7 separate regions of the Homo sapiens genome follow, and regions 1, 2, 3, 4, 5 and 6 are each linked to region 7. The links are contacts of gene promoters, found by promoter capture Hi-C in blood cells and fetal thymus (Javierre and others, 2016). All regions are on one chromosome and are shown on one strand. The core of a region is centred on a gene start or on the middle of the fragment in contact, and the rest is flanking DNA. Distances in the headings are between cores, read along the strand shown.

Region 1 (3,226 bases), core at 632-3,131, 130 kb before region 7:
TGTGCACGTGTTTATGTGTGCAGGTGTGTGTGTGTGCAGGTGTGTCTGCATGTATGTCCATGTGTGGACATTCACATATCTGTGAATGTCAATGTGTGTGTCAGTGCACATCTGTGTGTGCAAGCCTTTGTGTTCAAGTATGTGTGTCTGTGGTCTGTTTCTGTGTGCACATATCTGTGTGTATGTGTGTGTATTTATGTGCAGGGACAGATTTCTGTGTTGTGAATGCTCAGGAGGGTAGCACAAACCAGTGACCTTGAGAAAGTTACTTAACCTCTTTGTACCTCATTTTCCTTAGCTATAAATTGGAGATGTGTTTGCTTTGAAGATTAAATACATTAATAAATATATAGTGCTTAGAACAGAGCCTGGCACGTGCTAGGAGGGGTGGCTATTAACACTATTGATCTATATAAAGATGGACAGATCAGCCCAGAGAGAAGAGCTCATATCCTGTTGGCAGCTGCCAGTGGCTCCCCTCAGCCTTAGTACTAGGATGGTGCAGTAAACAACCTGTGCAACTGTACACAACAGCCCTGTTAGCCACCCTCTCTGTGGAAAAGGAGATAATTGAGAAGGAAGGAGAATTGTGGATAGAAAGAATCAACGTTATAAAGATGTCATTCTCTTAAACTTTTCTTCACCTCAAACACACACACATACACACACACACACACACACACATACACATACGAAGGAATTTTTTTAAGTAGGCAAAGTGATTCTACAGTTCACATCAAAACAACAACCATGAAAGAATAGCCAAACAAATTCTGAAAAAGTATAGCAAACAGAGGAAACTAGCATAGACATTTAACTACATTACAAAGCTGCAATAATGAAAACAGTGCCTTCTTGTAAAATAGACTGATGAAGAAATAGTCCGGGAGTCTAGAAATAGACCCAAATACATACGAGGAAATTTAATGTATGATGAAAGTAGAATTTCAAATCAGTGGGTAATACACCAATTAGTCAATAAATGGTTTTGAAACAGCTAGGGAACCATTTGGGGATAAAAAAATAAAGATGAATCTCTTTCTGGCACTTTTACCTCAAAATAAATGCTGGATGGATCAATGTTTTAAACATGAAAAATGAAATTCTAAAAGACCTAGAAAAAAAATCAGAGATTTAAAAATATACTGTCTTGGCAAAGCAATGTACTCGCCAAGTACTTTCTAAGTACTATGCAAGCTCCAAAAGGTCATAAAACAGATTGATACCTTCAACTACACAGAAATTCTGCCTGGAAAAAAAAAAACCCTCATAAACAAAAAGAAGTGACAAATGACAAACTGGGGAAAGATATTTGCAACTGTTATCACGGGCAAAGAGCTAATTTTCCTGATATAGAAATGTTCCCACAAATCAGTAAGAAAAAGATTAACAAACCAATAGAAAAATGGGCAAAGGATATGAAGTTCGCAGAAGAGAATTACAAATGCCCCTGGAACTCACACAAAGATGCTCAGCCTCATGATAAGAAAAAGGAAAACTAAAATTCAATAAGATACCATTTTTTCCCTTATCACACTGGCCAAGATGTAAAAGTGTGATATTCTGGGCTGGTGAATTTGTAGAGCAACAGGCACCCTCGCAGACAGCTTTGCGGGACTGTAGCTTGGTACGCCCTCTACGAGAGCAATTTGGCAATGCTATCAAAGCTAAAAATGCACACATCCTCCAATTCGCCAACTCTTCAAGGAATTCACCCTCCACAGACTCACTTGTGCATGTGTGAAATGACAGTACTTCAGAGCCGCTCAGCTTATAACAGCAAAAGCTTGGAAATGGCCTGAATGCCTATCAAGAGGGCACTGCTTAAAGAAACGATTGTCCCTCCAAACAACAGAATTCTGTGCAGCAGACGGCGCCTGAGCGATCTTTGAGAACTACTGGTAAGTGACAAAAACAAGAATAGGGTGGATAAGCTCAGGCATGGAATAGGGTGGATAATCTGCTACTGTTTACGTAGAAGCTTTTCTTCTTCAAGTATAAAAATCAATTTGCTTGTATTGGCACAGGCTTTTTCTAGTGGCTCCATGAAAAATGGATCCCAGTGACACTTGAGGGAGGTCTGGGTGCCCGGGGACTTGGGTTGGGGGACTAGCTTTTCACTCTATACCTTTGTGTAACATTGATATTGTGGACCACAGGTATGAATTACTTATCTATGATCAGATATATGTATACATGTGCATACGTGTATGTGAGTGTGCATGGTAAGCTGTTCACAGGGTGATCCCATTGATGACAGGGAAGAGGACAGACCCTCTGTGTGTCATTTAGGCATGTCACGTGGCTCGGAGGTCCCGGACCAGCAGAGCCTGAGCTGCTTAAATGAAGAGCGGCCTTCAGAGGCCAGCAAGAGGCCTCAGCCCGGGGCTTCCTTGTAATTTCCCATAACAGGTCAGGGGATCGCTGACTGCCATCTTCCCTTGATATTCGCACTAAATACCCCCATTGTCCTCCCTAGGCTCCAGGCTAAATGGCCCCATACAGAAGCCAATCTCAACTTCAACTTTTCCCCTTCTCTGCAAAATAATGTCATCTTTCTCTGGAGTCCCCAGGCTGTGTCCATCTCACTGTTCAGGGGATTTGACTTCCCAGCCAGCCCAGCCCTGGGAACCGCACCTCCTGTGGAGCCATTCTGCTGGGAATGGGTCGGTGGGTGGAGGAAGGGGGTGATGGCTTCTGCCAGCCACCTAATTGGCCAAATGATGTCCATCTGCCCTCCAGAATAAGCTGCAGGGAGTACCAAGCCTGGACAAACTCCCTTCCCAGCTCTGAAACATGCAGAAACCTCTCTCTTTTTGCGGCTTCTTCTCAGGCATAGAATAAGGGCTCAGTCATCACGAGCTTCCCTGGAATGCTTGGAAACAGGGTGGGAGCTGGGATTTCTAGACTCGCAAACTTTTCTCCCACCATCTCCTAGTCTTGGCCCCACCACCGTGTCCTGGACTGATTACCACGGCCTCTTAATGGGTGCCAGGGGTGGAAACCTGTGCTCCTTACCCCTGGTGGACCACACACCTGAGCAGGATGGACCCGGGGTCAGAGGGAGCAGGGGCTCAGGGTGGGCTGCTCTCACCAAACCTCACTTCTCTCCAAACTTCTAGTCTTGCTGCTGCCTTTATTCCATACTAACCATGGAACTTTCTATCCATGAAGCACTTTACATTCATCATCTTAGTTAAGAGGCCTGAGTTCATCTCAAGGAAAC
Region 2 (3,108 bases), core at 557-3,056, 200 kb after region 7:
TTCTCAGGCTCCATAACCATGAGAGCCAGCTCTTCATGATAAATTTTTACACACACACACACACACACATACACACACACACACACACATACACACACACGCATATAAAATTTTACATGATGTAAAAATCTCCTGTTGGTTCTGTTTCTCTGGAGGACCCTGACTCAGTGAGGCTGTGGACTTCCTTCATGGGCACCAAAGTTCTCCATTTCCTTGGGGGCACTGCTGTTGTTCCAGCCAATAGTGGGGATGCTGCTGGTGGAGACCCGCCTTGAAGAGATGTAGCAGGAAAGAGCAGTGGAAGGTCCACTGGGTGTCATTTAGCAATCGGCACAGGCATGAACCCATCGGAACTGGCTCTGGACATAAATGGCAGGTGAGAACTGCCTTGCGTATGTCCCAACTCCAGTGACAATACTAGAGCACAAAGAAGATGGCTATTTTGGGCCATCCAGAATCCACCTCCCCTCTGTATGTTTGGAAAAAGTCCCCGATATAGAATCTAAGCATGCCAGTGACGCACTCTGCCAGCCTGCATTGCTTGTGACCAGGCTTGACAACCGGATGTGCCCTTCCTGGACCTTTTGTCTGGAGCTGGCCACACAGATGCAGGATACACAGATGCAAGATAGACAGATGCAGGACGAATGGAGAACCTGTGGTCGTGGTTACTAACAGCCTCTATCCAGTTCCCAGGGGACAGTGGCCTCGTAGTGGCTGCAGTGGCATCCTGTATCCAGGACCCACAAAATGGGGCCCCTGGTGCTCCATGGAGGTGGTGGAGGGTCCTCACCAGACCATGCCTAGGCTGTGACTTTGGCTGTGGTCCTGTATACATTGTCACAAAGCCAAGCTGATATGGTTAGGCTTTGTGTCCATACTCAAATCTCATCTTGAATTATAATTCCCATAATCCCCATGTGTTAAGGGAGAGACCAGGTATAGGTGATTGGATCATGGGGCCAGTTTCCGCCATGCTGTTCTCATGATAGTGAGTTCTCACGAGATGTGCTGGTTTTACAAGTGTTTGGTAGTTCCGCCTGTGTTCATTTTCCCTCCTGCCGCCTTCTGAAAAAGGTGCCATGCTTCCCCTTCAACTTCCGCCATGACTGTAAATTTTCTGCGTCTTTCCCAGCCATGCTGAACTGTGAGTCAATTAAATATTTTTCCTTTATAAATCTCAGGTAAGTCTTTTTTTTTTTTTTTTTGGACAGAGTCTTGCTCTGTTGCCCAGGCTGGCGTGCAGTGGCATGATCTTGGCTCACTGCAACCTCCGCCTCCCAGGTTCAAACAATTCTCCTGCTTCAGCTTCCCGAGTAGCTGGGACTACAGGCACACACCACCGGGCCCGGCTAATTTTTGTATTTTTAGTAGAGATGGAGATTTCACTATGTTGGCCAGGCTGGTCTCAAACTCCTGACCTCAAGTGATCCAGCCCACCTCAGCCTCCCAAAGTGCTGGGATTACAGGTGTAAGCCACCTCATCCAGCCTCAGGTATGTCTTTATGGCAGTGTGAAAACAGACTAAGACACAAGCCCTCCCAGAAATTCTGCAACCTCCTGATACCCTTTCAGCAAATTTCTCTGCTGCTTCAATTAGCCAGAATCAGTTTCTATTGCTTGGATCTAGAACCCTAATTGCAGCAGCCAACTCTGGGCTAGGAACTCCACAGTCTACTCACATCATCTCCTTTAGCCCTACCCAGGCCTTGAGGAAGGTGGCTTTATCTCAGCAAAACTGAGGCTCAGAGAGGTTGAGTAATTTTTCCCCAGATCACAGAGCTTTTGGTGGAGCTAGGATTCAAACCCAAGTCTTACTGACCTCAAAGACATGGAATCCTCAGCCACTAAGATCCCCAACTCCTTTTCTGCCCCCACTGCTTTAATTATACCAATAAGCAAGGGAAAAGCAGAAACAAGCCCACCACGCAGGGACCAGCCTGGGAGCCAAATTGCTTCTGAGCTGAATGTTTCTCTCCCAGTCTTCAGTGAGGTGGTGGCAGCTCTTTAACTCCAGCTGCGGCGAGAACACAGTGCTCATATATATTCACAAGCGGGAGATGAAAAGCTGCACAATGCCCGGCCATTAATCCTAACTCAGGCCTTCCAAGCGGCGTGTGATGATCTGCCTGAAGCAGCGCCACATTCGTGCTCGGGAGCTGGGAATGCACCCCAAATCCACCGCCAGGGGCACACAGTCCAGGCTCCCCCACCACACTTTACCGTCCACCCTCATGCCCTAATGGCCTCATCAATGTTTCGTGGCCGCCTCAGTGCTCCTGACAGATAAATTAATGAGTTGGCCCTGAGCTATAGGAAGCACACCCCAAGAGAAGACAGAACTTAAGGAATTTAAGCCCCACTGCGCCTCTTGTGCCCAAGGTGGGAGAGTTGAAAGCTGGTTTCCTGGCGAGGGTGAGTGGAGATGGTCATTTTTCTGGCATTGATTCGTGGGTTTTCATTTCCCAGGAGCAGCCTGGAGCAAAGGAGAACGTGCAAGATGAATCTGGAAGGCCTCCCCCAACACGGCATGAAGAGGACCCGAGCCAGCCAGTCTGTGGATGGGCAGGAGACACAGGGAGCCCTGCTCAGGAGCCCGTGTGAGCACAGAAGGGGCAGCCAGGCTCCAGGTTTGTTAGTTGTCCAGACACCTGGAGCCTATGGGAGGCACAGAAGCTGGGAAGCTGGAGGTCCGTGTCTGGCTACACACGGCTGGGACTAAAGGATTGAGGTTAGTGCTTCCAAACGCACTTGGTGTTCTAGGCATGGGCTTCCAGACCTGGACCTGGCTCCCTGGCAAGGCCTCCCCTCTGTCCTTCTCTCCACCCACCTCTGTCCCCTCCCTGCTCAGTGCTCGACACCCACCATGTCACCCAGCCCCTTACTTACTTCTGACCTCTGACCCTCCTCACTGCCATTGACTGCAGCTCATTATTGTCCTTCCATCAGGTGCCTCCTCTCTGGACATGGGAGGCCACACAGTTCTGCTCTCGGGACTCAGATGCCACCCAGCACCCCCTGAGCATGTCCTGCAGCCTGGCCTCCTTCGCTGCTTCCTGGCAGCCAACCAATGCAGAGCGAGCTTTGGAACCTGGCCTGGGCATACAT
Region 3 (3,049 bases), core at 3-2,502, 200 kb before region 7:
AAAGAAAAATGTTCTCTTAACATATTGTCAACTTTTGCTTAGAAAAGCATGTAATACTTTAATTCTCTCATTGAATGAAATGAAAGAGTTAAGGATGAAACTCTCAGAAAGCAGGTTTCCAGGTACTTGTTAGGTGTGTATATTTCCATATTTCAGATTCATGTCCTTATAAAAAGAGGAAGAGGCCAGAGCTGGCTCTCTCTCCGCCATGTGAGGACACGGCTGGAAGGCAGACATCTGCAAGCTGAGAAGAGAAGCTGACCATACTGGCTTCCCAATCTGGGACTTCCAGCCTCCAGGATGGTGGGAGCCAGAACATTTGCTTTGTAAGCCCCCAGCTGTGGTGCTTTGTTATGGCACCAAGAGCTGACTCATGCAGTCTTTTTTTTTTTTGGACGGAGTCTGGCTCTGTTGCCCAGGCTGGAGTGCAGTGGCACGATCTCGGCTCACCACAACCTCTGCCTCCCAGGTTCAAGTGATTCTCCTGCCTCAGCCTCCCAAGTAGCTGGGATGACAGGTGCCACCACCACGTCCGGCTAATTTTTGTATTTTTAGTAGAGACGGGGTTTCACTATGTTGGCCAGGCTGGTCTTGAACTTCTGACCTCAGATGATCCACCCGCCTCGGCCTCCCAAAGTGCTGGGATTATGGGTGTGAGCCACCACGCCTGGCCAACTCCTGCGGTCTTGACGACCACCTCTCCTCCAGCACGAAGAAGGATGCCTGGCACACAGTAAGTGCTCAAATACGTGTGTTAAGTGAACAAATGAATGGATCTAGAGTTACCATCATCCAACTCCCAGGGTCGATGATTGAAATGAACAAGAACTTCCTGTAAGTGGGTTTTATTGGAAAAAAAAAAAGAGAGAGAAACACTCCAAACTCCTCTTCTAATAGAGGTGGTAGCAATTCCTTTTTTTTATATTTTGAGTTTTTTTTTTTAAAGTAGAGGCCAGATTTTCATCTTGATGGGTCAGTGTAGGCCCGATATTGGCATAAACTCCAATATTCTGTGTATGCCTGATCCATGGCTCCTGAAAATACAACCTCTGAGGACTTTTTCTCCACAACAAATCTATCCAGTTGGCCCCTTTCCAGAAGGTTCTGGAGGTAGTAGGCCATGATGACATGCTGGGCCCTGCGGTGACAGTGACAGGCTGTTCTTTATGGGGTTAGGGGCAGGGTGCACAGTGGCCCCACTGCCCCTCTGGGCCACCTTGTCAGCCCTGGGCAGGTTTTCCTTCCTTGACTCCAGGCCTTGCTAGAAAAGGCCCAGGAAGAATGCGCATAAAATGTAAAAAATAAAGTAAAATGAAGGGGGAAAGAAAGGAAGCATATAAAGCAAAATAATTGCAACAATATAAAAGCCTCATGTAGGTGCCATAACGAGCGATCGGATTGAAAGCTGCTGATATAGCTGAATCCATAAAAGTGTGCTCTAAGTTGTTTATTACATGCGGGGGCGCGCAGGTACCACGGCTCAGATTAATGGGGCACAAGTAAGAGACAGACAGTTAGAGCCCAAGCCAGAGCGCCGCATGGCACAGCCAGGTAAACAGGGAGACCTCAAGGAAGGCGAGTTCTGAGTTTAAAAATACGAGGGCTGCCCCAGGGCTCAGGGCTGGCTCGTTGGCTCTGGAAGGAATGGAGGAGAGATGGCCATGTGCTCAGGCCCAGGTGGCAGCCTGCAGGGCTCGATGGGGGCTGAGGTGGCCAGGGATGCTGGCACAGTGAGAAAGGGTCCCAGGGGTGAGGAAGACCTGGGCTCAAAGCCTAGCTCTGCCCCCAGGTATCCTGGTGACTTCATCCTACTGAGTTTCAGTCTTCTCAGGGGGGAAATGGGGATGAAAGTCACTACCTCTCAGGGTTGTATGAATTCAGGCCCCAGCTCAACAAATCTTTCCTAGGTGAATGCTTGACACGTGCCAGGCTGTGTTCCAGGCACCAGAGATTCTCCACCAAGCGAGATGGCCAGGGTCTGTCCTCATGGAGGGTGATGTCCCAGAGGAAGTCGAACCAATGCTCGTGGGGTTAATGAATGAAAGAGCGTGTGATGGTTGCCGGGAAGGGGGCAGCTAAGCTGGTCTGGGGTGACTGCAGAGTGCCTGGTACACAGTAGGTGCTCAATAAATGACAGCCTCCCCTCCTGGAGATTTGCCTGCCTGTGCAGGGAAGAGCTCTCCCTGCTAGCCCTAGTCCAAGTGACAGACTCAGAGGCTATGGAGAGGTGGGAGTCGCAGGCTCGGGGACGCACATTAAGCCCTGCAGGGTACCGGGCAAGGCCTCAGGCATTTCATGGCGTGGCTCCCTGGGAGACAGCGGGAGTTGAGTGGGTCTCAGAGAAGTGAGTCCTGGAGCAGATTTACTGTTAATGAAGGTCACCCCAGCACAAGTGGGTTATTGGGGTAAATGGGGCTCCAAAGGCCAGACCATGAAAATCACAGGTGAGCCCGAGCAAAGAGGAGGGGTGTCTTCCCGGTGAGCTCCTGGCATAGGGTGGGCCCTGGGGTGGGAGGAAGTGTACGGGGCTCCCCACACGGGGGGCCTCACTGGATCTCACTGCCCCAGACGCTTTGCGTAACAGCCAGGACAAGGGACATCTAACGTGATCCATCCTCCCTGAATCACCTCATTGAATCCTCCCATTTTTGCCATAGGCACCAATTTACAGATGGGGAAACTGAGGCTCAGAGACCATGTGACCCACCTGTGCCACCTCATTTAGTCCTCCCAACTTTGCCATAGGCACCAGTTTACAGATGGGGAAACTGAGGCTCAGGGACCATGGGACTCGCCTGGGCCACAGGTCGGTGAGCGGTGGGGCAGGGGTGTGAGCTGCTCCCCTCTCTTGGGCAGGCTTCTGGGATGCCTGTTCTCCAGCTGCCCAGGAGCCAGGGTATCCAGGCCCTGTGACCTGAACCACCCAATGCAGGGGCCATGAGCCACACGTGCCTATGAGCTCCTGCAATGTGGCTGGTGTCCCTTTGATTTAATGTGATTTAATTTTAACTAATTTACATTTAATTAAGAATGGATCCCCAATTCAGTT
Region 4 (2,815 bases), core at 37-2,536, 180 kb after region 7:
TGCCCCTTAATGGGGTTTGAGATGCTAGGATGTGGGACTCGGGAGGAAACACCTGGGGAACGCCGCACCTTTGAAGCTCATTTTGTCAAGGTTCTTTCACGGCGGTATCACCGGAGACCAAATACCATTTTTAATTACTCACGAAAGCACGAGATGGTTGCCTCTTCTCAGGCACACTCCTCGCTCTTCACTTCAATCCTTTTTTTTTCTTTCTTTGAGACGGAGTCACTCTGTCGTCCAGGCTGGAGTGCAGTCGCGCCATCCCGGCTCACTGCAACCTCCGCCTCCCAGGTTCAAGTGATTCTCCTGCCTCAGCCTCCCAAGTAGCTGGGATTATAGGCACGCGCCACCACGCGCTGCTAATTTTGTATTTTTGATGGAGACGGGGTTTCACTATCTTAGCCAGGCTTGTCTCGAACTCCCGATCTCAGGTGATCTGCCTGCCTCAGCCTCCCAAAGTGCTGGGATTACAGGTGTGAGCCACTGCGCCTGGCTCTTCACTTCAGTCTTATCTTCAGGCTGTCTCTGTCTCCTTGGCTGGGGGAAAGACGCCAGTCAGCTATTTTTTCTGTGGCCCAGGTGAGGATAAATGAGGGCTCCAGGGGGTCAGGGATTTGCTCAGAGTTGGTTAGAAAAAAGCTTAATAGCTGCTGATACTGAGCACCTGCCAGGGGCTTGACACACTTTTTCTTTCATCTCGTGACTCCCGAGGTAGGTATGGTTAGTTTTATTTTGTGGGTGAGAAAACAGGCTCAGAAAGGTTATGAAACTGGCTCAGGGTCACATAGCGGGTGGCTGAAATTTAAATCTGGGTCTTCTGACCCAAAGCCTGGTGGTTTCCCATCTGCCCTCTTGATGCAGGAGTCCAAAGAGGAGGCCAGGGGGCATGCTCAGAAGCTGCGAAGGGGAGCTAGACCTGCCTCCATCAAGGAGTCCAGGTGTCTGGGATCCACCTGTCTACCTCCCTCCCAACCTTATGGAATATTCCTCAGAGTCTCCCCCTACCCAAATTTGGTAGGGTTTCTCTTCGTTCAGAAGCTCTGGCCTTCTTCTTCAGCTATTTCCTTATTTTGGTGGTGTCTGAGTGAACCCAGGACAAGACCTGCCAAGGAATTTTCTATGTCAGTCTGAAAGAAAAGCTCACCTCCTCCATCGCTTGCAGCAGGGGTTCCAGCTGGAGTCTGCAAAGCCAGGGCGATTCTCCCTTCCCCATAAGGGACATCTGGATATGTCTGGACACATTTCTGATTGTCACATCTGGGAGGGTGGGTGCTGATGACGTCTGGTGGGTAAATGCCAGGAGTGGTGTTAAACATCCGGCAAGGCCCGGGACAGCCCCCGCCACAAAGAATAATTCAGCTCAAAGTGTCACCACTGCTGTGGTTGAGAAACCTGCTGTGAAAAATGCCAGGAGGGAGGAGAAAGGAGCCCCTTAACTTCAGTGCCTTATGTCCATGGGACACTGACACCCCCAGGCAGAAGCAGCCACTTCACTTGGCAGGGCGGCACAAAATGAAAATGTTGCAATTCTTGTGAAAAATGATTTAAAATTTCAAGACAGCAACAGCAGACCATTAAACAAGGGCCTGTGGGACTGGCCAGGACACCCACCTAGGAAGCTGGAAAGAGCTCTCTGCTGGTCCCTGGGATCCCCTGGGTGCCCTGTCCTCAGCTCTCAGGCTTGTAGTCACACGACTCCTCCAAAGAGTTCAGGCCAGAACACTGAGACGGCAGTGCCTGCTGAGAATCTGAAGTGGCAGACTCACCTTTCCTTTATGGAGGAAAAAATCTCACTTTTGACTGTCAGGGAATGAAGGGACAGGACTCAGAGGACTGTCTAGGAGGTCCTGAGTCCTCCCCCGTCCTACTGCTTCTTGGGAGGGTCAATATGCCACGAGGGTTTTCAAGCACAAAGTAATTAAGAGGAGGAGCAGAAAGCTTCCAGTCTCCAAGCTGGTAGCCCCCAGGGCTGAATCTGTGGTTTTCTGTTTGCTGTGACACTTCATCTGTAGAGGGCCGCTCTGGGAAAGAGCGGTGCATACTGGGCTCCATCTGAGGAACAGATCCTGGAAATGACCTTCTCTCCTTGTCTCTCCCTGTCTCTCCCACACCCCCTCAATAAGCAGCCTCCTGCCATTTATTTCAATGATATTGCTTTTGTTTTGTTTCATTTTTCTTAAGCATTTTATTTTTATTTTTATTTTTGAGAGGGAGTCTTCCTCCGTCACCCAGGCTGGAGTGCAGTGGCATGATTTTGGCTCACTGCAACTCTGCCTCCCAGGTTCAAGCGATTCTCCTGCCTCAGCCTCTGGAGCAGCTGAGATTACAGGCACACACCACCACACCTGGATAATTTTTGTATTTTAGTAGAGACCCGTTTTTGTCATGTTGGCCAGGCTGGTCTCGAACTCCTGGCTTTAAGTGATCTGCCCGCCTCGGCCTCCCAAAGTGCTGGGATTACAGGCGTGAGCCACTGTGCCCAGCCTTGAGCATTTTACAGTTAGATTGTTCTTCAGGGTTGAGGGTGTTTTTGCAAACCATCTCACATGCCTTTGAGAAGATCGGAGGGAGGGCTGCAGGGGTGTGAGTGGTAGCCCAGGTGGACAGGAGCAGCCACGAGGGGCCCACCGTGAATCAGATCGTCTGTGGAACAGGAGAGAAGGGCCCTGCCACCTGCTCAGGCAGCCCCCACAGCAGATAGTTGTAGATTTCCAGAGCTTCAGCTTCCCTTTCAAGAGTGGAGGGGAAAAAAAGCAAGAGGAAGGCCTGGGGGCTAGGGCAACCCACCCACCAGACAATGATCACAGACCAGCCA
Region 5 (2,953 bases), core at 102-2,601, 240 kb after region 7:
AAAGCTATGCATGATGTGTCTGTCCAGCTCCATTACATGACCCCTCCCTCTGGCTCACTATTTCCATTCATACCTGTTTCCTTTCTGCTCCTTGAACACACCAAGACCCTTTCTCCTTTTTACTATGTACTTGCCATTCTACCTGCCTGGAATGATTTAACTCCAGCTCTTGTCATGCATGATGGTTCATTGTCATTCTTCAGGTCTTAACTCCAAAGTCCCCTCTTCAGAGATGTCTTCCTTCCCTACCCTATCAATGAAGTCTCTCTCTGCGCTTCTAGGTCAGTGTCCTGCTATACCTCTGACTCTTTATTTCACAGCATTCATAACCATTTGTAGTTATATTGTTGGTTGAGTGTTGGTGGCGGTAGTAATGGTGGTGGCGGTGGTTGTGTGTGGGGGAGGGGTGTGATCTGTCTTCCCCACTAGGAAGCATATTCTTTGAAGTCAGGAACCAAGTCTGTATTTGTGCAGTAAAGGATCAACTTTACCCAAAGAAAGGTTTGGGTCTTTGGCCCTGGCTCCTGGGAGGGAACCTCTATGTCCTTGGAATGCCCTGTTTGATAAGAGCATCTTTGTTTACCTGGGGTCTTGGGCCACCCTAAATTTTCTATGCTAACAATATGATTTGTGGTAGGTTGGGGGGGTGGTCTTGGACCACTTGGTATAAGCTTGACTTCTGGAAGGCCTAGAGACTAAGGTCAACCTGGCAGGCAGTCAATCGTGTCTATGTGACTGAGCCCCAATAGAATCTCTGGACACCAAGATTTGGGTGAGCATCTCTGGTTGGCCAGACTCTGTGTGTGTTATCGCACATCATTGCTGGAAGAAACAGGTGCTGTCCAAAGTTCCACTGGGAAAGGACAACAGAAGTTCATGCCTGGTCTCTCCTGGACCCTGCCCCATGTACCGCTTCCCTTGACTGATTTCCATCTGTATCCTTTCACCGTAATAAATCACAACCATAAGTATAATGCCTTTGCTGAGTTCTGAGTCCTTCCAGTGAATCATTGAACCTGAGGCTGGTCTTGGATAACCCCCAAACTTTTCCATTGGTGTCAGAAGGGAAGTGGTCTTGGGAACCCACGACCTTTTCAGTGTTATTTACCACTATCTTCTTAGTGCATAGAACCACAAGTGGTATGCAGTAAGTGCTCATGAAGTATGTATTGATAATGAAGGTTCCTCTTGACACAAAGACCTTCCAAATGCAGCCAGTAGGGCTGGGACATGTTCTCAACCACCTGCAGCTTCCTCATACCACCTCATTGAGTTTAGCCCCACCAGGTGTCTTCTAGTTCCCAGAAAGTGCTGAGCTCCCTCAAGCCTCTGGACTCTTCTAGAAGTTGTGTGTGTTGTCTGGGGATTCCTTCATCCACCACCTCCCTGATTCCTCATTGTCCTTCCGGATGCAGCTAATCTTATCACCTCCCCTGGGGAAAATTCCATAGGCCCCGAGTTTCCAAGCCTACCTGAGCTTACCCATGGCATGCTGTTATAATCTCTGCTGTAACACATGGCATCTGGGTTATAATGGAAAGGAGTCTGAGCCTTCTCTTCCTAGAGCTATGTCGCATTTGCAGAGGATCTTCTGCTTAGATACCTCTTCTCTGTGGCAGGTGGACTCTAAGATGGTCTAAGCTGATCCCCACCTCGTGGCACTCACGTTTGTGTCATCTTCTCTCTTTGAATGTGGGCCAGACTGGCAACTTGTTCTAACCAAAGGAATATGGCTAACATAATAAATGTCACTTGAGCTCTTTTAAATCCAGGAACTGTGTGTTTTATCTGTAGGTCTTTACTAGCAGGTGCTGTGCCGATTGCATAGCAGCAAATATCTGCATCAACAAACGGATCAACCCCTCAACAAGGAGAGGTGGAAGGAAGGTTAGGAACATGGTGGAAAATTGTTTTAAAATGATGGTTGTGTAGCAGATCTTAGCATCATTTTCAGAAACAAGATTCTATCTACTCATTCTGATATCTACACAAAAGGATAGGAGATAAAACTATCAGGAGGTCATCCTCTCAATAAGCTTCTTTGGAGTAGAAGTGAGCTGCCCTGCCCATAGGTAGGAAACCCATGCCTCTAAGCTTTGCAGAATGTTCACCTAATCTTAGATTTGGGTCATAGGCACTGGAGCTGGCTACCCTCTTCTCTGTGGCAGGCTGACTCTAAGGTGGTCTAAGATGATCCTTACTTCCTGGTATTCACATTCTTGTGTAATCTCCTCTCCTTGAACATGGTCTTGCCTGGTGACTTGTTCTAATCACAGGAATATGGCAAAAATAATGATTGTCACTTCTGAGATAAGTTTTAAAAGATTGTAACTTCTCTCTTGCTAGTGGACTTTCTCTCTTGCTGGCTTCTTTGGTGCGACAAGGAACTGAGAGAAGCCTCCAGCCTACAGCCAGCTGGGAACGAAAGCCCTGAGCCCAACAACTGTCAAGGAACTGAATTTTGCCAACAGCCACAAAAGTGAACTTGGAAGTGAAGCCTTTTCCAGTCAAGCCTTCACAAATGGCACAGTGCCCACTCTCCAGCCCTGGCTAACACCTCGATTGCAGCCTGAGAGACAGTCCAAAGCAGAGGGCCCAGCCAGGCCACACCCAGAGGCCCCACCCACAAAGACTGAGATCACAAATGTGATCGCCTTAAGCTGTGAAGTTTTGGAGTGATTTGGGGTGATTTGTTAAACGCGGTAGATAACTAACATGCTCTCCCAAGCGCTCATCAACACCAGATCATACCTGACTCTGCTGTTAGCAGCACAGTAAGACAGTCAAGCCATAGACGCCAGAGCCATATGGCCTGGATTCAAATCTCAGGGCCTCTACTTTGTGCCTGTGTGACCTTAGGCAAGTTACTTAGCATCAGCTCTCTCATCAAGGACATAGGAATATTACCTACCTCTTAGGACTGTCATGAGGATTAGATTAGATCCTACATGTA
Region 6 (2,811 bases), core at 10-2,509, 220 kb before region 7:
ATTGATTTAAGCCCCAGGCGTCTTTCAAAGAGCCAAGTGCAAGGCTTTGCGCACGTGATTTGTATCACGGTTGTTCTGACCTCTCCCATGACATCTTTCTTGCTAGAGGTGGCTGCTTGTTCTACGGAGCTGGAGAGGATAGAATTCTCCTTCTACATAGATGGGTATCACCGTGTGATGTTTTTATATGAAGCATCTGCAGCTTTTATTCAATTTCCATCTTTTTTTTTTTTTTTTTTTTTTGAGACAGTCTTGCTCTGTCATCCAGGCTGGATCTCGACTCACTGCAACCTCTGCCTCCCTGATTCAAGGGATTCTTGTGCCTCAGCCTCCCGAGTAGCTGGGATTACAGGCGCCCACCACCACACCCAGCTAATTTTCATATTTTAGTAGAGACTGGGTTTTGCTATGTTGGCCAGGCTGGTTTCGAACTCCTGACCTCAGGTGATCCGCCCGCCTCAGCCTCCTGACGTGCTGGGATTACAGGTGTGAGCCACCGTGCCCAGCAATTTCCATCATTTTATAAAAGCTTTGCGGGAACCCTAGCAGGGCCTGGCGTCGTGCAAGACATGGATATGGAGATCTGTGTAGATCCTGTATCTCTGGAATTTTGCATCCATTTAACAATGACAGCAGCCCATGCGGATGTGGAGTGGAAGGAGGTGAGCCTTTTTGCTTGCACAGCTCCCAGTAACTGGGATGACTACATTTGGTTGGTGCTCACCGCGTTCCCCAGTGCCCTACTCAGAGCACCCCATTTAACCTTTGCAACATCCTGGTGAGGCACTCATCAGGATTGCTCTCCCCTTCTACAGAGGCGGAAGCCTAGAGGGGGCCAGGAGGAGCTGAGCCAGAATCTGCCACATCGGTTTCGGCTGCAGCCCCTGCCTGTTGGAGTCCTGGCGACGCCCCTGTAGAGCGCCAGTGCCCTCACCTCTCGGTGTCTTTGCTGAACTGTCCTTTCCCCACGTCGTTGACGGCACAAAGACGGAACTGGTAGGAGCGTGCAGGAACCAGGCCCTTGACTGTCACTGAGGTAGCTTTGGGGTCCACACTGGCCAGGAGTACAGTCCAGGGGGCATCTGCAGGGACAGTGAGTGGGGCAGAAGTGGGTATCTTGGGTGGGATGAAGCATGCTTCTTACTCCCCACTCCCAGCAGGGTCCAGCTTCACTGGGGCTGGCAAGAGAGAGCCTCCCCAGCTTGGTGCAGGAGTGGCCCGCCATGCCATTTTTCTAGGTCCCATTAGCTCACACGACCCTGGGGAGGAGACGGTGGAGGGTGCCGGAGGAAAGTAAGGGCTTATGGGAACTGAGATGCATTTGTCTCCCCCACTACCCCCCACAAATTGATGAGCTCTAGGCAAGCTGTGTTTAAAATGCCATTCAGGCTGGGTGTGGTGGCTCATGTCTGTAATCCCAGCACTTTGGGAGGCTGAGGCGGGCAGATCACCTGAGGTCAGGGGTTTGAGACCAGCCTGACCAATATGGTGAAATCCCATCTCTACTAAAAATACAAAATTAGCTGGGCATGGTGATGTATGCCTGTAATCCCAACTACTTCGGAGGCTGAGACAGGAGAATCACCTGAACCCGGGAGGCAGAGGTTGCAGTGAGCCGAGATGGCACCATTGCACTCCAGCCTGGGTGACAAGTGTGAAACTCCGTCTCAAAAATGAATAAATAAATAAATAATAAATAAATAAAATGCAATGCGAATTATGCCTGCTCATTTGACTTGGGGAATACATAAATAAATAAATAATAAATAAATACTGGCCATTTTCTTTGCAGCTTCTGCTGTGCCAGGCCCTGAGTTAAGCACCTTTTGTGCGTCATCTCTTTCAACTGTAACAGGGCCTGACAGGCAGATGCCTGTGTTTCCTTCAGAGATGGGAACGCTGAGGCTGCCAGAGGGAAGGATCTGCTCAAAGGCCCAGAACTAGGAAGCAGGAGAGCTGGGACCCCAGCCCAGGGCTGACTCCTAAGTCCAAGCTTGGGCGGGAGGTGTTGGAGGTGACCACGGGAAGCTTACTGTTCTCCGACATCTCCAGAATGTAGCGGATCAGGGGGCTGTTGCCATCAAAGGGCTTGGTCCACGTCAGGTTGATGGCTCGCCTTTCCACGGTGCTGAGAGTGGCCACTGGGTGCTCGGGCGCGTGGGGCAGTTGCCTGGAAAAGAGACACGTGGTCAGGCATCCCTATGTGGTCTGCAGGCAGGTGACGGGGGCGCTGTGGACACAGGTTGTGTAGGCCTTGACCTTCCATGATACCGCATGCTTAGACGTAAAATGTGGCCTTCGGGCCATCTACCTGGAGATTTTTCTCTCTGGAACCAGAGCCCTCCTGCTAAAGCCATCCTCACACCCCCCTGCTCTTGACGGAGGGCCTAACTGAGCTGAGAGAAAGGCCTGGAAGGATGCTGGGGGTATGTCCTGAGCAAAGCTGAACAGTTCAGGTCACACGTGGCCTGGGGATCTGAAAAAAGGGACTCGGCTGGCTCTGAGCATGCCAGTTGCTATTGCCTGGACCGCCTCTGCCGGGGTCTGGGAGGGCTGCCCTTACCTGACTCGCAGGTGGGCACTGCGAGAGTCGTTGCCTCCTGCTGAGATCACCCGGCAGGTGTACGTGCCGATGTCTCCCGACCACGTCTGTGAGATGTGCAGGGAGCCGTTTCTGTCCAGGCGGATACGAGGATGGCTCTCCGTGCCCAGGGTGGCCCCGTCCTTCTCCCAGATGTACCTAAAAGTAAGAAGAACCCGTAAGTACAGAGGGAGAGGAAGGTACCTTGGGAGTGGGCCTAGCCTGAAGCT
Region 7 (3,201 bases), core at 548-3,047:
GGCCTCAGTTTCCCTATCTGTTAAATGGCTACTAGAATAAGATGACCTCTGAGGTCCTCGCTTGTTCAAAGATTTTATGATGATCATAAAAATAATAACTTTTATTACCCTACATTTATAGGGCTCGTTACAAAATTTCGAAGTGCTTTTATGTAAATTACCTCGTAAAATCCTCCCCTCAGCCCTGTGAGTGAGAGCTGATTATTTTCATCTCTTTGATCTTGGCTCTCTGGATTGCCTGGCGCACGAGGCGGCGTGGGGAGTGGGTTGCAGCCCCCACAGTCCGGACCCCTAGGGTGGGTCTGGCCCCCTCCTGAGCCTGCGAGAGTGAAGGCCTAGCCCTGCGAGTCCTGGAGCTCGGTCCAGGCTTCGTCTCCCTCCGCCCCCAGCAGGCGCCGCTCGGACACCGCTGACACCACTGTCTGGATCGGCGAACCCCAAAGTCGAGGAACCGCCGGTGCAGCCGCCCTTCACCTCGGGGACCTGCCCGGGGACCAGGGGGACGTCTGGGCATCCACCCTCAGGAAGCGGGCAGCGCAGATCACACCTCGGATCCTTCGTAGCACTCCCAAACCCAAAGCCACCAGCCCTTCTCCACCGCGAGGCTGCTCCCGGCAGCCACAGGTCACAGCAGCGAGCGGCTGCACAGACTATCGAGCGAACAGCGGAGGCTGGAGGCAGGGGCGGGGATGCTGGGTGTGGGTGGATGGGTAGGAGGGGAGGCCTCAGACCCTCCCTGTGCACCACCCCCCGGTGGGTCCGCGGCTGCACCCGCGACCTTGGCTCCAGGCCCGCGCAGCGAAGCACCCCCAGCCCCAGCGGCTGGCCGAGCAGCCAGGGGCGGGCTCCCGTACGTGGCCAAGCCGGGCAATTGCTCTCCCCGGGCGAGCAACCCGGCATCCAGCGCTCGCCCACCCCACTCCCTCGCCCCGGGGAGGCCATCGCCTGCCCGGCAGGGGCCCTGCCCTTCCCCGCAGACACCGAGCAGGGAACCAGGAGCTCGGTCTGGGAAGCTCAGCGTAGCCGAGCGTGGAGCCCGGCACGGAATGTCGCTCCCCTCCCAAGCCGGCGCAGGGCAGCCACAGCAGACGGGGGGAGGGGAGCGCCCCTCCCACTTCACCTTGGGCTCTTCTCTGCCTCCCCAGGTCGTCCCCACCTTCCCCCATTCGGAAGCCACAAGTCTCGGAGAGACTGCCCCACCCCCAAAAGAGCCCCAAAACTTGGGAGATGGGGTGTCTTGAAACTCCCTGGAGAGGGCTCTGCCACGGCTAAGCCGGGTGTCCAGGAGGTCACCGTGAGGCCGGCCAGCTCCCGCCGCCCCTCCCCCGCCCACTCTCCCAGCCCCCTCCCTGTCCCCACGTGGGGGTCCCTCCTTACCTTGGGCTCTGGCCGCGCGGATCTGATGCAGAGCTAGCAGTGTCCAGATCAAAAGCCCCCACATGGTGACCAGCCTGGAGAGGGGTCCTCGGGGTCTCCCTTCCCTCCGCCCTGTTTTATAATCCTGGTGGGGTCCGATACCCCGTGGCTTAGTCCCAGGAAACAGTCAGTCTACGCGGCTCCGTGCCCCGGGGTGTAATATGCCCGGGAGGGGCAGCGCTTGGCTACCCCAACCCTTCCTCCTCTTCTGTACTAGTCCGAGCCCGGCAGCGCGCCCGGAAGGCGAGGGGCGAGCAGGGAGAAAGAGGCCAGGCCGCCCTCTCGGACTAGGGCGCCTCTCTCCCTTAGCACCCCAACTCCGACTTCTCCCAAACAGGGCGGCCTCTGCGATCCGGCCGGGTCGCCGGCCGAGCTCCGGAATAAATGGACAACTTCAGGAAACTTCCTCCCGTGGCCACGTTGCCCGCCCCCTCCCCGCCCCCTGGTTGGGTTCTCCCGGCCGACGCAGTCACCGCCGTTCCAGGCGCCGGGCCCCCGGGACCCGGCCAGAGCCGAGCGCAGTGGCAGACGCGGGTGCGGGGGTTCTTTTAGGGGCGCCGGTTTCGGGGGACGCGGTGAGCATAGCGGTCCGAATCTCCCTGGAGCTGAAGTTTTCTTCTCTCTAACTTTGCAGGCAGCATCTGGCGGGGCCGAACCACCCCCTCTGGGCTCCACCGCCCTCGCGCCGAATCGGGAGACGCCGGGTCTCCTCCGGGGGCGCTGGGGCCGGGCGCGCCCTCGGCTCCGCGCCCAGCCGGCTAGCAAACTTTGCGGGTCCCGGAGCCGGGCGCGCAGCCCTGAGCGCCCATGTCCGCGCCAGCCGCGGGGCGGCGGGGGAGGGTGCTGGGCTTCGCGACGCGGGCTGTCGCCGGCGCCCGGGCGCAGAGCCTCCTGCCGGCCCGAGGATGGAGACCGGCGGCTCTGCCCTCCGCCGCGCCCCGGCCGGAGCTCTCGGGAAGACGCACGGAGAGCCCGGCGGGCAGCCCCGGCTCCGGGGACGCGGCGCCCCTTCGGACGCCCGGCGATCGCCGACCTCCCGGGCCGGAGGAGCAACGGCCGCCCCAGCGCCTCGGCCGCCGCTGCCGCTCGCCGAGCCCGCCGCCCTCCGCTTCCCGGGCTCGGCGTCCAGAGAGCCGCTCCTGCCTGCGCCGAGCCGGAGCTGCGGGGGCAGCGTGAGCCGGGGACGAGCGCGGCGGAGGCGGAGACGCGGAGAGGGGGGCCGAGCGCTACCCCGTGGCCGCGACTGGAGAGCAGCCTGCGCGCCGGGAGGGGCGGCGGCGGCGGCGGCGGCCCCGAGCCAGGCCCGGGAGCGAGCCCCGCAGAAATACAATCCGACTGCGCGGCCGCGGGCGCCCAGCGGCTCTGGGACCCGCAGGGGGGCAGCAGTGCCAACCTTCTGCCGCGCCGGGAGAGATGCGCGCGAGCCCCTCCGCTCTCTGCCCAGCCTTTCCTTCCAGCCTCGCTCGCGCCCCTGTCTCAAAGGCCTCATAGGACTCCCAGAGTCTCCTATAGTCGGGAGCCCCCAGCCCCCTTCCGGACATGGAGTGATTGGTGGGGAGGCGGCGGTTGGGAAAAGGGGGTCGGTCAACCGATTGATTCCAGTTTCCCCTTCCCAAGTCAGGCTCTCCAAGGTCTGGAAATGCTCAGGGCGGAGGGGGAGACATCGGGAGGCCTGGGACCTGCAGAAGCCTGAGAAAGTGAAGTTGGTGCCAAGGAGCGTGCGTTCTTTGTTTCTTCTTTTTTCCTTCGGAGCCCAGCTTGTAAAGAGTAGAAGAACCGGACATT

Evidence for each region. Contacts are between HindIII fragments. The CHiCAGO score rates a contact against its expected background, and 5 or more counts as called.
Region 1: a fragment that was not itself captured here is called in contact with the fragment with the promoter of SDK2 in region 7 in 1 of 17 cell types (naive B cells); the score reaches 5.1 in naive B cells.
Region 2: a fragment that was not itself captured here is called in contact with the fragment with the promoter of SDK2 in region 7 in 1 of 17 cell types (naive CD4 T cells); the score reaches 5.2 in naive CD4 T cells.
Region 3: a contact is called between a fragment that was not itself captured here and the fragment with the promoter of SDK2 in region 7, in 4 of 17 cell types (naive B cells, total B cells, naive CD8 T cells and 1 more). The highest score is 7.3, in naive B cells.
Region 4: a fragment that was not itself captured here is called in contact with the fragment with the promoter of SDK2 in region 7 in 1 of 17 cell types (naive CD4 T cells); the score reaches 5.5 in naive CD4 T cells.
Region 5: a contact is called between a fragment that was not itself captured here and the fragment with the promoter of SDK2 in region 7, in 1 of 17 cell types (M2 macrophages). The highest score is 5.9, in M2 macrophages.
Region 6: a contact is called between a fragment that was not itself captured here and the fragment with the promoter of SDK2 in region 7, in 5 of 17 cell types (naive CD4 T cells, naive CD8 T cells, total B cells and 2 more). The highest score is 7.3, in naive CD4 T cells.

The regions. Positions count from the first base shown.
Region 1 is chr17:73,511,890-73,515,115 of GRCh38, forward strand. The region is part of intron 1 of SDK2 (sidekick cell adhesion molecule 2); the gene reads right to left. SDK2-AS1 (SDK2 antisense RNA 1) reads left to right here and starts at 1,794. Exons shown (of 2, transcript NR_135635.1): 1 at 1,794-1,901. The HindIII fragment of the contact is 195 bases long and covers 1,785-1,979 here.
Region 2 is chr17:73,846,100-73,849,207 of GRCh38, forward strand. No RefSeq gene overlaps it. Among named protein-coding and RNA genes, the nearest start is that of LINC00469, 19 kb to the left of the region's middle. The HindIII fragment of the contact is 7,751 bases long and covers 1-3,108 here.
Region 3 is chr17:73,441,968-73,445,016 of GRCh38, forward strand. The region is part of intron 5 of SDK2 (sidekick cell adhesion molecule 2); the gene reads right to left. Among named protein-coding and RNA genes, the nearest start is that of SDK2-AS1, 70 kb to the right of the region's middle. The HindIII fragment of the contact is 8,005 bases long and covers 1-3,049 here.
Region 4 is chr17:73,822,544-73,825,358 of GRCh38, forward strand. LINC00469 (long intergenic non-protein coding RNA 469) reads right to left here. Exons shown (of 4, transcript NR_027146.1): 2 at 1,145-1,282. Among named protein-coding and RNA genes, the nearest start is that of LINC00469, 4.6 kb to the right of the region's middle. The HindIII fragment of the contact is 1,299 bases long and covers 638-1,936 here.
Region 5 is chr17:73,886,521-73,889,473 of GRCh38, forward strand. No RefSeq gene overlaps it. Among named protein-coding and RNA genes, the nearest start is that of LINC00469, 59 kb to the left of the region's middle. The HindIII fragment of the contact is 1,365 bases long and covers 670-2,034 here.
Region 6 is chr17:73,421,353-73,424,163 of GRCh38, forward strand. It overlaps SDK2 (sidekick cell adhesion molecule 2), which reads right to left. Exons shown (of 45, transcript NM_001144952.2): 13 at 2,564-2,740; 14 at 2,034-2,170; 15 at 935-1,082. Among named protein-coding and RNA genes, the nearest start is that of SDK2-AS1, 91 kb to the right of the region's middle. The HindIII fragment of the contact is 1,464 bases long and covers 528-1,991 here.
Region 7 is chr17:73,642,648-73,645,848 of GRCh38, forward strand. It overlaps SDK2 (sidekick cell adhesion molecule 2), which reads right to left and starts at 1,798. Exons shown (of 45, transcript NM_001144952.2): 1 at 1,378-1,798. The coding sequence starts at 1,441. LOC124904054 (a long non-coding RNA gene) reads left to right here and starts at 2,827. Exons shown (of 2, transcript XR_007065893.1): 1 at 2,827-3,047; 2 at 3,174-3,201. The HindIII fragment of the contact is 5,171 bases long and covers 1-3,201 here.